Linked DNA regions of Homo sapiens: region 1 is linked to region 2. The links are contacts of gene promoters, found by promoter capture Hi-C in human tissues and cell types (Jung and others, 2019). All regions are on one chromosome and are shown on one strand. The core of a region is centred on a gene start or on the middle of the fragment in contact, and the rest is flanking DNA. Distances in the headings are between cores, read along the strand shown.

Region 1 (5,759 bases), core at 70-2,569, 1.3 Mb before region 2:
TGATGTTGCACTTACATGCTTCTTGATAGCAACCCAAGCTCCAATTCATTAAATATATTCTGATATTTGATTCTTAATCCAGTATCTTCTTATTTGTTTTATGTCTTCAAAAAGTTGAAAAGAATCCCATTCTTCATCTTCTCCTCATCTTTACTTTAAAATTCAACCTCCACCTGGACATTGACATGAAAATGCCCTTCCCTAGAACCCTTTAAGAACAGCATAAACAGTTTGCCTGAATAACAAAAATAGCAAATGAGTAAGGTAAGGTGGCAGGTGAATTCTGAGAGGACGAAATGTAAGGAGAAATTGACAACATCTAAGATTGGCTAGGATATAAAAGGATTATAGCATGGAGGGAAGAGACATTTGTGGGAACATTATTTTCAGATGGATGCAGCAAAAGTGGGGCTGGGTGATTGTTATGGTTACTTTGTTGTTGGTTTAATAATGTTGCGGCCAAATGTATACAAAAATGGCCATTCTATTTTTAACTTGGGAAACTTACTTATTCTCAAATTATTGGTACCTTCACCCTGTAAGATGGGCTAAAGATATTTACCTTGAAGGGTTTTCGTAAAAACTAATGTGCGCAGAGTGCTTAGCATACCTAAAACATTAGATAAATAGTAGCTTCTGTTTTTATCTTTTGGCTGTGACATAAGTACTAGTGCTTCATTTGATATAATTGTGTTCCTCTTTGCCATTGTCCTATTATGGAATATTGTAAGAACAAGAAAGCTGCCTTATTGATCAAAAAGAATTGCACACTTTAACATTTACATATCAACGTCTATGAAGCAGTTTGTGGCACATATTGAGACCTTAAATTAAGATGATGTTTAAATAGATGGTAATCTAGTAAAATAAGCAGTTAGAAAAATTAGTATCAGTCAACCAAGGTAAGAAATTTTTACTTTGTCACATACTCATCGCATGAGATGTTCCTGCAGGATATGACCATTGTCATCTTCCATAAGCTTATCAATCCAATTGATTAGTTATAGCCCTATTAGGGCACATAATTGTGTCTAGTAGTGTTTTCATAGTTACTCTAGTAAGTAGTCATCCAGATTTCTTCTGCAAGTTGTGGAATTTAACACTGTTTTGTTAATGATTAGTGAAAGTATTATTTTCATGTGAGAAGGATAAAATATTCCAATTTGAAAATGTATCCAAGTAGAATTTATAGTAACATTATAACTTTCTCTTTCTTTTGTCCTATTAGGCAGTTAAGTTCAAGTAACCACAGGGCTTTTGCTCTTAAAGAGATCTGGCTCAGAATGAATACCAGGTTGAAGAGGCTGAGACAGAGCAGACTTGCTGAAGGATTTGGGGGATATTTAGGAATAATGTTAAAAATAAAAAAAGCCTTAGTTGTTGGTGAAGCCAGAGAGACAGGAGAAGAAACATGCTGGTTGTGCCGGGAGTTTAGCTATTCTGTCTCATATAATCCTCACATCTTTCAGAAGATAAAAGGGATACTCAAGCAGTTAAGTAACTTGCCTGGGGTAAACGGTTGTCAGAATTCACTTTCAGCAGTGTCTGACTCCAAAGCCTTGTTTTTCCCTCTGTATCTTTTTCTATACTTCAATTATTAAAAGAATTTCTTATTTTAAAATGTATTTAGCTCCGCATTTTTAGATATGTTTGTATCCCTGGAAACCAAATGACAGAGGGTTTGTCTTCTTGAGGGTACTGTTTTATCCTACAACATCAGTGAAGCACCCTGCTCATATATTACTGTCATAAGTCTCTGGCAGGTATGCCAAGTTATCTTCCTTTTCCTGAAGCATGGAAGGGAAAACAAAAGGTGTTGGCAGGTTAAACAGAGGCAAGAGAGCCAGAAAAGAGAAGGCAACTGTCAGACAGCAGGATAAGACTGGCAAATGAGAAGAATTACATAGCAGGTGAACAGAAAGACTTGAAGGAGCACAAATTGATGCTAATAGAAGTATGGAAAAGCAGGGGTTATTAGACCTTTGATACTTGTTAAAAGTCAAATATATTTTGATTATTTGGTGAAGAAAATTGTAAAACAGCCCTTCAGTGACTGTGAGTGAGAGAATTGTGTTTCACTTCCCTGAGTTCATTGGTTTATATTGATGTATGAGGTCTCTTAACATATTAACACAGGCATTTCACCACTGCACTTTTCTACACTAACTGAGAAAGCCAACTCCATGAATCTCATCTTTTAGCACCATAATGTTTTCTAACCAATCATGTCAAAACTCAATGACTTAAAACAATAAGCAAATCTGTGGGTTAATAGGACAATTTTTCATATCCAACTTTGTGGGAATTGTTCCCATGTTATAGGGGACGGCTGGCTTTTGGCTAATCTGGGATGGCCTTGCATAGAATGACTGCTGTGACTTGGCTCTGTTCCTGTCTTTCCTCCTCAAGCAGCCGTGCTCTTATTTTATATGGGCAAAGTGCAGAAGCAGGTAAATCCCGTATGTACACACTTTCCAAGCCTCCCCTTGGCCATGTTTGTTAACATTCCATTGGTCAAAGAAAATCACCTAGTCAAAGCCAAAGCCACAGCCAGAGTAGTGGGAGGGCTCTACACAGATAGATGGCAAAGACAGGCATTCAGAGGAGAGCAGAGACTCTGAAACGTTGTTGTGACCTACAACATGACATTTGGACACACATTTTAAGTTTCTGCCGAGGCCAAAACAGACTGAAACAGCAGAACACACATATCTAGGAAAACATATGCAAACCAAGAATTTCACCAAATATAAGTCACAATCTGCAAAACCACATTGTTTCTAATAGCAAAAGCAACACAACTGCCTTTGATTTTTTTTCTTAACAGAGAAAGAGATAGGGGATGTGTAGCTCTGACTTTAAAAGTTACTGCATTTACATTTATTGTAGTCACTGATGTATTTCTATCATTATGTATTCTGACTTTTATTTACTGCTATTGTGATTCATTTTATCTTTCTTGATTAACATTTTAATTTTTTTTATTTTTTTCATGTCTGGTTTAGAGGAGATACATTCTATTTAATTTCAAAAACTTCTAGCAAACATGCTTATCTTAATATTTTACCCAATGTAGAATTAAACAAACCACATCCTCCTTCTTAAAGGTCTACCTCAGTATTCTTCAACCACCTCATGAAATCACTCTGTCTTATTATATATTATTTTCTAAAATTTAGTTCAAGTATGTTTTTAAATATTCCAAAGGTTGTTGTTTATAGTTAATATTGCATTATTTATATTTTTGAAACTCCCCTGCTTAAAATGTTTTAATAGTTTCCAGCTGTGTTATAATTATAAATATTTCTTTAAAATTTTTGAAGAGGAAAACATAAATAGGATATAAAAGAAGATGTTATAAAATTCAGAAGGTCTCCTATTCTGCCATAGACTCCAAATCCCCATTTTAGAAGCACACGTTAGCATTTATATATGTTCCTACATATTTTACACAAATATTTGTCTACATACCTATTTGTGTGTTTGTGCGTGTGTGTATGAATATTTTTATTTGATTTATTAACAAAGAGACTATTACATAAAATATACTGTCTTGAATAGCCCTTTTCATAGCTTACTTCACAGTATTACTCTTTGCAAATATTACTTCCTCTTCAAATTATTATTGTAATTTTTTCACATTTAAATGCAGTATATAAAATTCAGCTCATTCTTTTGATTCGCTATTCCATTATAATAATGTACCATAACTTATTTAACAGAGTTTCCTATTAATGGATATTCCATTTGTTTTCCATCTTACACTTAGATGCTGCAATGTATAGTGTCTGTTCCCTGACAATGATAAATCAATCTTTTTGATTTTTGCCGGATTGATGGGTAAAATTGGGAATTTTATAGTTTTAATTTGCAATTTTAATATGAGTCACAGAGTATCTTGTAATATGCCTAAAGCTATCTGCATTTCATTTTTATTTTTAAATAAATTGGCTGTTCATATTATTTCCCCATTTTTATATGGGTTATTGGTCTTATTAACTATATGTGATTACTGACTAATAAAGGATATTAGCTATTTTCTGTAATGTAAAAAACAATATTATTTTTCATTTTACAATTTGCCTTTGGCCTTTGCCTATATATGTTTTATAATATATTTTTTAAAACTTTAAATGGTAAAATTGGTCAATAAAATAGATAATGATTCCTGCATTTTTGAAAATATTTTGAAATGTTTTACCAATTCTAAAATTATTTTTCAATTTCTTGTTTCCTTCTAACAAATTTATAATTTACTTTTTCATATTTAAATATTTGATCTGTATGAATATTTCTTGGCATAAAACCATTGTGATAACACCCTCCCATGTTATCACAATGTATTTATTACATAATCTAATTTTTTCTGCACTGATGTGAAATTGTACTTTCATAATGAATGCATGCACATACACATATACACATATGCGGAATTATGTATGAATTTTCTGTTCTGTTTCATTAATCTGTTATTAGCAAACACCTTAATATCCTAAATGTTCACTTTACCGTTTTCACTTAAGAGAAACCCAAATCTCCCACAAATGCACTTCTTCCCTGGAAGCCTTCTCAAGTAATGACAGATTTTGCCATCATATTTATTAGCCACTTCTAACTCTGCGGGACAGTATTCTCCATGCTCCTTATTGCTACTCACTGTCACCATGCTGACTCATTTCACTTTAAATTCATGACCTCTATCCTTTCATGAGCCATTACTGCAGACTGGGGTTCATACCTGCCTTTTTCTCCTCAAGCCTTCAGTCATTCTTACGTTATCTTCACTATCACTCCATGACCTTATATTTTATTCTACTAAAGATAGAGGCCATCAAAAAAGAGAATTTCTCTATAAGTTCAAACTACCGCATCTATCCATTTGACAACATCTATGCTCATGCTGTTTCTTCTCTTCTACTACTATGAAAGCATTTTCTGTATTCTTTTTCCAAGGCCAACCCTAACAGTGAAGCACCTAATTTAGTGCCTTCCACACAGCCAAGGACATTTTCTCAGACATTATCCCAACTATTTCTTATGTCATCTATGTTTTCCTTCCAATATATTTTCATCAGCATAAACATGCTATGAAATCTCTTACCTTGAAGAAGAAAAATATATCCCTTGACCCCACATATACCTTCAGTTAAAACCACACATCTCCTTTGGTTGATAGTAAAACTTCTCAAAAGGGTAGTCTGTAAACTTTTTGTCCTCCTGTTATGGATAGAAGGCTTTCGAATCAAAATTTTACTAATTTAACTCAATGAAATTTTATTTTCTCAAGTGAACTATAATTTCCATGTGTTAAAAAGAAACCTCCATTCTCATTCCTCATATTACATGATTCAGATAATCACTACCTACTCCTTGAAACATTTTCTTCCCTTGGCCTCAGCATTGACTTCTGATACAACTATTACGAGTTATGTCAAACTGCACAAGTTAAGAATACAGTTCTCCATTAGTCTACCCTCACTTCAGACACAAGCCACAAGCCTGGAGTTCCCCAGACCACTCTCACTTCTGATCCGCTCTCTACAAATTAAGGAGTTCACACTACCCTCTAATAATTCACTAGATATAATGAATTCACTAGAATTCACTAGAGTAATTCATTAGAATGCCTGACAGAACTCAGGAAAGTGCTGTACTTACAAATATAATTTTAATAGCAAAAAGATACAAATCATTACCATTCAAAGAAATCTGCTCATAGGGCAAGGTGTGGGAGGGTCCCAAACAAACAGCTTTCTTGT
Region 2 (5,936 bases), core at 40-2,539:
GACCCAAATGAACTGTGTGTTTATAATAATTTGCCTCAACTTCTTCCTTTTAGGTCGATGTGTATGTGTGTTTGTGTAGAGAGTATGTTCCAAAAGTGCTTGAACAGTTTAAACCTCACTAACTTCAGAAAAGTAAGTTCTATAAATTAACCCCCAAGATCCCTTGAAGTTTTAATTATATATATTTATTGTACACTTATTTTTGTTTTATAGATGTTAAATAATGCATTATTAGTGAAACCATGCCCCAGAGAGTTGAAGAAAACAGTGACTAATGAAATAATCAGTTTACAGGATAGGCGATTAAAAAACAACAACAACAATAACTTACTAAAATGCCAAAACTCTCCCTGCTTCTGAGATTAAAAAACTGGCTAAAATGAATTAAAACTATTAAGGCCAACTGGAGTTGGCACAGAACAAGCTGGCTGGCGTCACAGCCCAAATTTCTGCCACGTTTCAACCAACTCCCCACAAATGTGCACATGGAATACATGAGGCAGCGTTAAACAGAACTGTGCATGCGGAGGACTTACAGACCTCCGCTTTCCTTCCACCAATCAACTATTAATTCCAGAGGCCACTCCCTAAACTTTTTCTAATAAAATGACCCCATGAAAGCCAGCACAGGGGACAGGTTTGATCTGGACTCCTGTCTTATTGTTCGTTAATTTACAATAAAAACCTTCTTTTCTCAAAAACCCAAATTGGGCAGTGAGCTTCTTTTCCTTGATAACATTAGTTTTAATCATTTGAGACAGTCACTCTGATTGGAAATAGTAAAAACTGACTTCAAAACAAAAAATGTAATGTTCAACATTCACAAAACGAAGCAAGTATAAAGGAAATTTAAGTTTTATATCTGCATTTATGTAAGGCAGAAACGTTCTGTAGGTAAGATGGATTTGAGGACATATGTGATCCTGAGAGTGGCAATGCCTGGGTACAACAAATATTCCAGGCAGTATTTCAGGCTTTCAAGGCAGTGTGGTTGGTGGGGTCCAAGTTAAGAGCTCCAAACAGTAAAGCGGGACTTGGGTAATGCCTGGTTTACTGTTGGAACAAACCAAAAATTCCACTAAGATAAATATATGACATGAAAAGGGATGGAGTTGGGAAATGGAGTGGCAAGGTAGGGCAGAGGGACCTAGAGGGCCCAGGAGAGTCAGCTGGGCTGGTGGGGTTGGGGCTGTGGACACACCCTCCTCTTGTTGCTCCCTGCACCCTTAGAAACCTTCTGTGACTCTTCCATGCTCTGTGATGCAGGCCTGTGCTTATAGTTAAGCCTGGGCACCCTCAGTGCTCAGTTGCTTCAGGCAGCTGAGCTATTCAGACCATGGAGAATATCCTCTGTTTTCTGAACAGCTATACTGAGACAGGGCTGAGCCCTGACTCACATTGGTTGGATATCGACCCCAACTTCATCTGCTTGAGTGGGTTGGGGTTGTTTATACTGTACTTGTTCTACGTGGTATTGACCCTGTATTCGTCACCCACCGAAAAAAATAATGACATCCAAAAGGTAAGGAACTGTGGGTGAACACCCAAGAGAGATGCCCTGTTGTTGTTTCCCAATCCTATTCCAACATTTCTAAATAAGTTTGGTTGGTACAGAGACATGTTTTAGATGGGAAGTCTGAAGAGAGGATAGAACTTCACTCTTCTATGGAAGAGGTTGGGCAGACATAGGGGTTCAGGAGGACTAAGGTTTCCATCTGAAGCTCATAGTTTTCCATGTGAAGCTACCTATCTGGCTGTGGTGGAGAGTTCCAGGATAAAATCCCAAACACAGTAATTCTGTGGTCCCAGGTGGGATTATTTAGAGATTGTGGGCTCTCTGAAGGAGAACGGTCTCTGCTGAAATTTGATCATGAGTCAGATTCCCATGTCACCTGTCACTTGACCAAGTCTTCCTTCGTGTTGGGCTGACCAGAGGAGTAATGCTGAGAGTCTCTGAGCAGAGGCTGGAGCTATAGGCCTGTCTCCGTGACACTTGTCCCATGAGGGAGCACAGATGTGACTGTTGACCTCTGAGTCTTTGCCCTCCTTCAGAATTGCTAACTGAGTACATCAAGTGTGGCTCTCACAGCAAAATCTTCTTTGAGGATTTTTCAGAGAAGGAAAAATGGGAGCTATTTTATCACCATTAAAAATTGATAACAGGAACATATTTCTATTAATTAAAGAGTAATATTCTTGTATAATGAATGAATGAATGAATGAATGAATGAATGAGCTTCATAGAGAGTGAGAGAAGTGAGTCCCAGCCTGTCATTATCTGTCTTTTGTTCTCAGCATCAGGGCAGAGCCAAGAGGAGAAGGAAAGGTGGGACATTCAAAGGTAATGTCAGCCTGCTCTATCTGAGCTTCAGGGGTGACCCTTTCTGTCTCTTTCATGATGACTCAGTCCCATGATTTCTTAGAATGTCAGTTACTAGATGCAGTCTTAGAAAACAGAGCCCTCAGAAGACAGGCTCATGGGAAAGCAATCAGACCTGAGACACTGCTCAGAGGCCCTGCTCTGCCCATTTACGGGCAGGACAAAGTGATGGACCTGAGCAATGGGTGTTGCCCAATTGGTGGCCAACTGAGATATCCAGGAGGGACTGCTGGTGGGCTTGGAGTCAGAGCTTCTGTCTCACAACTTTGCATACGTACTTTGACTTCCTCAATGCTCGGATTCCTCCTGGAGGTAACCACTGATGTCTGTGTTTCACGTGGTGGTTTTGAGCATCACATGGGGTAATGTATGTGAAAGGACTTTACTAATGATGCCACATACACATGTGAACTTGTGAATATTATCAATGACTATTTTCCCTTTTCTACTGATTCTTGGGGCTCTCAGAGTTTAATATCCCAAGGGTCTTCCACAGATTGACTTCTGTATGAGCCGTGTGCCTCTATCTTCATTGCATATAACATACTATTCAGGTTTCCCAGACTGGAAAAGTTTCCAGAGAGAAGAGGAAGAGGAAAGGAAGCTGCTTTCTCTTCTGAAAAGGTGATTAATCTTTCCCTTTGTGTCCTGTTCCCACCCCACTCCTTCTTCTTTAGTACGTTCTATTCATTTCAGGGATTCCTTGTAGCCTGCTGTAGTTTTGGGAGTGGGTAGCCATAGGAATGGGTATGTGAATGAATGTGTTGGGGAGAGGCTATAGTGAGGTCATAGGACCTCATATACGGTGAGGTCCTGGGTTGGGGGCAATGTGATATGGGCAGCAGGCTTTAGGGAACCCACCCCTGCCAGGCTAACAAATCTCCTTTCCTTGTTCTGGTCCTGACTGCAGCTTTGGACCTCCTGTTTCCTGCAGTCCTCGGGGCCAGCATCATGATACCAACCACTTTCGTCGACTGTTATGCCCAGACCCCGTCTGTCGGGTGTGTAAGAGAGCAACTGCTGATATCCAGCAACTGCTGTCTTGGGAGTCCCTGAAAGATGCTGCTCCCTCTGTGTCCCCTTTGGCTTCTTCGGCTTCTGCGACTGAGTCATCGTTCACTCTGGCTTCCACCCCCTCAGCAACCCCTCCAGAAGACCTAATACTGTCCCCTCGGCCTAAGGCCTCTCCACCACCCCCCTTAATTCTCTCACCTGACCTGATCACCACCTTAGCTGACTTATTTTCACCCTCACCACTGAGGGACCCTCTGCCACCACAGCCTGTTTCTCCCTTGGATTCCAAGTTCCCCATAGACCATTCCCCACCCCAACAGCTTCCCTTTCCCCTTCTCCCACCACATCACATTGAGAGAGTGGAGTCCAGCCTCCAACCTGAAGCCAGTTTGTCTCTGAACACCATCTTTTCATTTGGCTCCACCCTATGCCAAGATATTTCGCAGGCCATGAATCCCATTGATTCTTGTGCTCGTCATCACGGACCACCAATCCCATCTGCTTTACCACCGGAAGATTGCACTGTGACTCAGTCTAAATCAAGTCTCACCATCTTGAAGACTTTTCCGGAAATGTTATCTCTAGGTGGCTCTGGTGGGTCATCCACCTCTGCCCCAACAATCAAAGGCATTGACCATTCACACCTTGCATCTTCAGAATTCACCTGGTGGCAGCCTCATGCCAAGGACTCTTTTTCCTCTAATTTTGTGCCATCTGATTTCATGGAGGAGCTTCTTACCCTTCATTCTTCTGAGGCCTTTTTAGGGGGGCACTCTGTGGCCAACCTCATAGAGCCTGTTAACATCTCATTTCTCAGCCATGACATTCTGGCACTCCTGGAGAGACAAGTCAAAAAAAGGGGTGATTTCCTGATGTGGAAAGAAAATGGAAAGAAACCAGGATCATTCCCAAAACAACTTAGGCCAAACTACCAACTAAATTCCTCACGGAATATGTTAACCTCAATTGCTGTTAAGCATGACTTGGCAGAATCCTTTCCTTTTTGGGCCAGTAAAGGCAAACTAGAATGGCAGCACATCCATCAGCAGCCTCCACACTCTAAATGCTTTGAAGACCATTTAGAGCAAAAATATGTCCAGCTCTTCTGGGGTCTCCCATCTTTGCACAGCGAGTCTCTGCATCCTACTGTTCTTGTCCAACGTGGCCATTCCTCCATGTTTGTATTCTTCAATGGCATTACAAATACATCTATATCCCATGAATCCCCAGTACTTCCCCCTCCCCAACCTCTGTCCTTGCCTAGTACCCAACCACTACCCTTGCCTCAAACCCTGCCCCAAGGTCAGTCCCCACATCTCACTCAGGTGAAGTCCCTGGCTCAACCTCAATCTCCATTCCGAGCCCTACTACCTAGTCCTCTATTCCTGATTAGGATCTGTGGAGTGTGTTTTCATAGACCCCAGAACGAGGCACGGTCTCTTTTGCCATCTGAAATTAACCATCTGGAGTGGAACGTGTTGCAGAAAGTGCAGGAAAGTTTGTGGGGCTTACCCTCTGTGGTTCAAAAATCCCAGGAAGACTTTTGTCCTCCAGCTCCCAATCCTGAATTGGTCAGAAAGTCCTTCAAGGTCCATGTTCCGATCTCCATCATTCCTGGAGATTTTCCACTCAGCTCTGAGGTAAGGAAGAAACTAGAGCAACACATTCGAAGGAGGCTCATCCAGCGCAGATGGGGCCTGCCCCGCAGAATCCATGAGTCTCTGTCATTGCTACGTCCTCAGAGCAAAATTTCAGAGCTATCTGTGTCAGAGAGAATTCATGGACCGTTAAATATCTCTTTGGTTGAGGGTCAGAGGTGCAATGTTCTAAAGAAGTCCGCATCAAGCTTCCCTAGAAGCTTCCACGAGAGGAGCTCAAATATGCTTTCCATGGAGAATGTGGGGAATTATCAGGGATACAGCCAGGAGACTGTCCCAAAAGATCACCTGTTGCATGGTCCGGAGACTTCTTCAGACAAGGATCTGAGGTCTAACTCTGAGAGAGACCTAGAAACTCATATGATGCATCTGTCAGGGAATGACTCAGGGGTGAGACTAGGTCAGAAACAACTTGAAAATGCCCTGACAGTACGTTTGAGCAAGAAATTTGAGGAAATCAATGAGGGTCGAATGCCTGGGACTGTGCATAGTTCATGGCACTCAGTCAAGCAGACAATGTCTCTTCCTGAGAAATCCCACAGCCAAATTAAACATCGAAATCTGGTAACATTGGTGAGTGAGGACCACTGCGTTGATACTTCCCAGGAAATTTCCTTCCTTAGTTCCAACAAACAAAAGATGTTGGAAGCCCATATTAAAACTTTCCGTATGAGGATGCTGTGGGGCCTTCCCCTCAAGGTCCTTGAATCCATAGAAATCTTCAAATCGAAAGCGGACCTTTCCACTTCCTTTTCCCATTTCGACCTTCCCTCCTCAGCCACCTTCATCTCTCAGGGAGATTCCAAAGATGGGGTCTCTAAGTCCCGTAGTCGAAGCACTTTTCAAGGAGAAAAGTTGGGAACAACAAGCTCAGTCCCCATCCT

Evidence for each region. Contacts are between HindIII fragments. The study calls those that stand out against the background at their distance.
Region 1: a fragment that was not itself captured here is called in contact with the fragment with the promoter of SPATA31D1 in region 2 in 1 of the 25 tissues and cell types used here (dorsolateral prefrontal cortex).

The regions. Positions count from the first base shown.
Region 1 is chr9:80,701,310-80,707,068 of GRCh38, forward strand. No RefSeq gene overlaps it. Among named protein-coding and RNA genes, the nearest start is that of LINC01507, 880 kb to the left of the region's middle. The HindIII fragment of the contact is 7,480 bases long and covers 1-5,059 here.
Region 2 is chr9:81,987,483-81,993,418 of GRCh38, forward strand. It overlaps SPATA31D1 (SPATA31 subfamily D member 1), which reads left to right and starts at 1,290. Exons shown (of 4, transcript NM_001001670.3): 1 at 1,290-1,522; 2 at 2,296-2,341; 3 at 2,935-3,004; 4 at 3,291-5,936. The coding sequence starts at 1,337. All of the region lies in intron 1 of LOC105376107 (a long non-coding RNA gene), which reads left to right. The HindIII fragment of the contact is 9,723 bases long and covers 1-5,936 here.